2 separate regions of the Homo sapiens genome follow, and region 1 is linked to region 2. Evidence: promoter capture Hi-C in human tissues and cell types (Jung and others, 2019). All regions are on one chromosome and are shown on one strand. Each heading gives the region's core, a stretch centred on a gene start or on the middle of the fragment in contact. The rest is flanking DNA. Distances are from core to core; before and after follow the strand shown.

Region 1 (2,700 bases), core at 90-2,589, 84 kb before region 2:
TTTTACCTCATATCTTGGGCCCACTGGAAACTTTCAGGTGGCACTCAATTCTGTTTTTCTTCAGCATTTACATCCTGTATTAGGCCAGTTTGATTTGCTATGTTTCATGGTTAGACTGCCTGTGGACATAATTGTTTTTGGTTTTAGCAAAATTTAGCTGAGTTTGGTTTAAGATACAGCAATACCCCCTTCTCAGTTGAAATAGGAGAGTTAGCTTAAAGGATGTTTATGTCAGTAATTATATTTTTGGCTGTGAAGCACAGCAAAATGTTTAGGAAAATATACTTAGTAATTTCAAATCTTAATGTTTTATTTTTTTTCCTCCAGAAGTGTAGTATGGCTTTTTGCTTGCATCTTTGTTTTTATGTTTAATTACTTGAATTAGTGAAAGTCTTTGGCTTCACCAAATTGTTGTGTTATGTGTTCATTAAGGATGAAACACAGATACTCTTATGTCCAAATGAATTGTGGTATATTCAAAAGCTATGTAAAAGAAGATATATTTAATATAAGTTAAACTGATTTGGAAGGAAGGGTCTACTGTTTTACTTGTTACAAATGTTATGTGTGGAGAATTACTACAAGAAATAGTTTTCAAATATGAATGTGCTTAAGGTTTATTTAAGGTGATATGCTTTAATAAGCTTATTTCCCAGGTCTTATGGGAGATTCTGATTCTGATTAATTTTTAACACGTACCCAGATGTTTCTGCACACTGGGAGCGATGTTTCTGAAAAATACCCCAAATGGTGGGGAAAAAATAGTGCTACATACTTTTCTAAATTGATTATCTTACATCATTTGATATTTCATAGAACTAATCTTACTTACTGAAAACCTGATTAACTTGTTTATAACATCATGTTTTACTGGCAATAGAGATGGCTGTCATGGTGAAGAATCTTTTCCTTCAGAAGAGAAATGGACGGATACATTATTCATACCAACCAGGATCATGTGTTCCTTTATGAGTCTGCAGTGACTAGGTGATTGGGTCCTAGGTCATCCTAAATTTGTTATTTAGTGTTTTTAATTATTAGAGACATTGTAATTTACTTAAGATCAATAAAACTTATTAAACTGGATAGCATTATAGGTTACTCAGTGGAAGTAATTTCAAAGCATTTCCTAGCATTTGGCTAGAAAAGTCATTTTTATAATATCTTTACAGTGGTATATTTAAGTAGCTATATGAAGTTTGTTACTATGACATGATATCTTGATTGAATACTATGGCCTGTTTTTATATATTTGAGGCAAGTGTTAATATGATTTTACTGAAATCTTGTTACGTGTATTGCCTTCCTGATAATTAAGTTAATTGCTCAGAAATTATGACTTCTAATTATAGTGCAATTTTCAGTTTGACTCATAGGAAGAGAAATTGGACATTATTTTCATTTGAATCAAGAGACCAAAGGTAGAGAATTAAAAGGTGCCTTGTTTACTGATTTGAAAATATGCTTTGGAAGTCTTTGAAATTCATTTCCTACCCAGTTCCCTTCTCTGATTCTCATTTTAGGCTCATTTTCCTTTCATGAATACTAAGTTGGAATTCTGAAAGGTATTTTAATTGTGAAAACACAAGTAAATTGGAGGTGATTATAAAACATATTCAAATAGTTCACATTTTACTTCATTTTGATAGACTTCTTATATACTGTACACTTATATACTCTGACATCACTAATTTTCAACAATTTTATAATGTTTCCTGGGCCTGCTTATTTATGGCTTGGTCTTTTAGTCTGTAATGTCATTAAGTTAGTTTCCTGATTAGATTTTTAAGATCTGTTTAATTTCCTGCATTCTTCCTTCCTTGATTTCTTCATTTCCTCCTGATTCCACTTTCCCCAGTGTGGTTCATAACTCTCTTAGGGTTCCTGTCATGCTTTAAAAAAGCTATATAGTTATTATTTTAAGTGAATTACACAGTGCATTAGCAGATGACAAGGCTGATAGTTATCTTTTGTTAGATAGTGTTTTCATATCACTAGGTTCAGAGTCTACTTTTTGAATTATCAACTAGGGTTAAAGTAGGCTGAACTAATGATCTGGTTGTTGGAAAAGTCCTTCTGATGTTTTAGACAGTTTGTGCCTTTGCAGGATCTTGGTTCTTTACAGAGGAAGCCAGATGGCCCCTTAACTTTTGGCATTGCTTGGTAAACGGCAGACACTCAATAAACATGTGGATAAACATGTTTCCACCCTGAACATTTTTAGTAAGATCATTGGAAAAGTCAGTTTTCATTTAAAAATGTTTAACCTTGATCAGTATTCAAACACAAAGATTCTCCAGAAATAACTTAAAATTGTTAAACTGCAGAGTGGAAATTGTAAAGACACCTTTTACAAAGAATTTCTTGTCAGTTTTTAGTATTTGCATCTGCAAAGCTTGAGTTGTTAGCTAAGATCTGAAATAGATCTCCTGTATGTGATCATTGTATTTGTTGTTTGATAAAGTGGGGCTCTGAACACAGAATTCTTGCAGACTCTGTCAGCTTATAACTTGAAAAGTAGAGGTAAGGATATTATATGTTAGTAATAATTTGCACTGCAGATTTCCTTGAGTTCATACATGGTTTTGAATTATTGTCACCATGGTCAAATAGTACTTTGACATAAAAGAATTTTTTTTTTTTTAAACAGCCTGGCACATCCTTGACATTTGTTATTTTTTGTTTTTAATCCAAGTAATA
Region 2 (2,700 bases), core at 1-2,500:
TGTAAATTCTTTAGCAGATGATGTGAGCCTCTCTCTACCAAGTGAGGGGCAAACGGGAAGATAAAACCAAGTCCTGTGGGAGGGTTCTTTGGCAACTTACCCAGAGGCAAATGGCTCCCAGGTGTCATCAGCAGCCTTTCTGAACACATGCACGGCCACATTGATGGCAGGACTGCCTCGGACAGCATCTAGAACTTTGACCATCAGAGGACACTTGGATTCACCGGTGCCCTGGGTGTAGAGAAGACACGTGAGAAGTTAACAAAATTGATCAGAGTGAAAGGATTTATTCTTTGTGGTATTAGAAATCTGGAGCGAAACAAGAATTACACACTGATCCCATTATCAGGAACGTAAGTGTCGACAATTAATGAGCTTCCCTACTCAGTATAACACAGACGTAATTGTTTCCAAAGCAAGAATGGTTTCTGCCTCCAGACACACTGCTATCAACCAGGGATGTGTATAATGAATTTTAAGGGAGAAAATAGGTCCCCTGAGAACAGTTGCTTTGTTAAAAGTCTCCATTTGAGTGGAATTACTGAAAAGATGTAATGTACCATACATAGGGCCAAACAGGTTTTCCTGAGATCATTTTAGTTGTTGCTATAGTCACTCCCTCTTACCAGTTGTTATAAAATAATGTCAGAACTACATCCAGACCCATTTTATAGTATTAGTTAATTCTTCTAGAGGATTTAAGAATTAGATATCTGACTAGAATATTGTTCACTAAGCCTTTTAAAGATTAATCAATAAATACGTTTTGAATAACTATAGGGCCAGAATATAATCTCCTGCAGTTTGTCCCCCAAATACATTTTATGGAGGGATACTTTTCTGAAAATTCAGTATTAACAGCTTCCTTAATATCATATCTTTATTTCTATCATCTATCTGAGGAAACAGAGGTACCAGATATTACAAACCTAATGCACCAAAGCAATGAGGTAGAATGCTCAGAGTTCAAGTCCCAGCTCAGTAAGCTCAGTGGAACTTCATTCTTTTTGAAGTTTGAATTAATTATATTAAAAATAGATGCTGGGTACCCTTGCCCTAGTAATAAAAGCTGGTTGGCAAAGCTGGAAGGAGTCACTTCTACTTCATTTAGCGTGAATCTTAAATGTAGGAATGGGATGTCACAGAAACACTCACCGTAGGGCCAGCCTCAGACACAAATACCAGTCCAGCAAGGCAGAGGAGGAGCAGACGATGAGAAGCCATCCTGCCAAGAATGAGTGGACTTCTGTGATGGCTGCTCCCAGCCTGGGGCTTTTATACTCACTTCTCCTGAGCTAGGCTGCTTATCCCTGCCAATCTGACTGCAAACCTGCTGATTCTGATTATTGACTTAGTCAACAAAGAGAGAATAAGTAACCCATACAAATATGAACCTTGTCTAGAGAGATTAGAGCATCGGAACATTCGTTCTATGAAATATTCTTAATAGGTCATTTGACCAGTTAGGTCACCAAAACAAAACAACCAAAACAAAACAAAACAATCAAAACAAAACAAAAATAGTCTTCTCCCTGTGTGACTGCGTGCACTAACATTCTTGGGGGTAATTTTTTCCTCCCTCACATATTTCTATGCATGTTTTCCATTTTTATAGATTTTTTGTCTCTCATTTTAGATGCAAGATTTTAGACAGATGCAAGTTGTAATAATGTATTTCATGTTGAATGACATCTAGCTGCACAGGCTTAAATATAGTGCATTAGAAAATGTTTGCACTTGATGGATCCATGGGTCAACAAGGAAAAACCCTTGGCAGTGCTCACATTTTTAAAAGCCTACATTTTAGCCAAACTAAGTCATTTGGAAGCTTTGCTTAGTCAGCAATTTCTCCACAATGTGTGTGTGCATGTGTGTATGTGTGTGTGTGTTCTGCCCAGATAAAGTCCACTTCAATCTAAGAATGGCATCTTCCCTCCCTCCCTTCCTTCCTTCCTTTTTTCCTTCCTTTTTTTTTTTTTTTTTGACAGGGTCTCACTCCAACGCCCTGGCTCGAGTGCAGTGGCACGATCACAGCTCGCTGCAGCCTTGACCTCCCGGGCTCAGGTCATCCTCCCACCTCAGCCTCTTGCCCAGGCTGGTCTCGAACTCCTGAGCTCAAGCAATCCACCCGCTTTGGCCTTCCAAAGTGCTGGGATTACACGTGTGAGCCACTGAGCTGGGCCAGAATGGCATATTTCAACCTGGCATTGATGCCCCTGAAATACAGAGAACCAAATCTTCTTTACTGACTCTTCTGCATTGGGCATGCAGGAACAAGGCTGACAGCTGGTTTTTGACAGAACCAAACTTGCTGGAAGAAAGTAGAGATGACTGTGAGAACCAGAAGCCATGATTGACAGCAGATTCTTTTCCTCCTGGCCGACTTATTAATACAAGTCCAGAAATTATGATGATTTGATGATTCATTACTCACATACAAAGTCTCTGTGTGTATGTGTGTGTGTGTGTGTGTGCGCGCGCACGCGCATGTGTGTGTGTGTCCACTAGCATGCGTGGCTTTGTTCATGGATAAACTAAGGCAGGTTTTTGTCCTTATAAGACAAACATGTAGAAAACATAGAGAAGACAAATATTTTGGACAAATACAAGCCAAGAGCAAGTCCGGTTTGGAGCACTAAGAATTGAGGGAACATTCCCATAACTGATAGAGTCAGATTAGAAAAAATTCAACAAGAAATT

What was found. Contacts are between HindIII fragments. The study calls those that stand out against the background at their distance.
Region 1: a fragment that was not itself captured here is called in contact with the fragment with the promoter of TTR in region 2 in 2 of the 25 tissues and cell types used here (lymphoblastoid cells and thymus).

Annotation. Positions count from the first base shown.
Region 1 is chr18:31,674,798-31,677,497 of GRCh38, reverse strand. All of the region lies in intron 1 of B4GALT6 (beta-1,4-galactosyltransferase 6), which reads left to right. Among named protein-coding and RNA genes, the nearest start is that of B4GALT6, 8.4 kb to the left of the region's middle. The HindIII fragment of the contact is 5,260 bases long and covers 1-2,700 here.
Region 2 is chr18:31,590,427-31,593,126 of GRCh38, reverse strand. TTR (transthyretin) reads right to left here and starts at 1,250. Exons shown (of 4, transcript NM_000371.4): 1 at 1,156-1,250; 2 at 101-231. The coding sequence starts at 1,224. The HindIII fragment of the contact is 7,126 bases long and covers 1-2,700 here.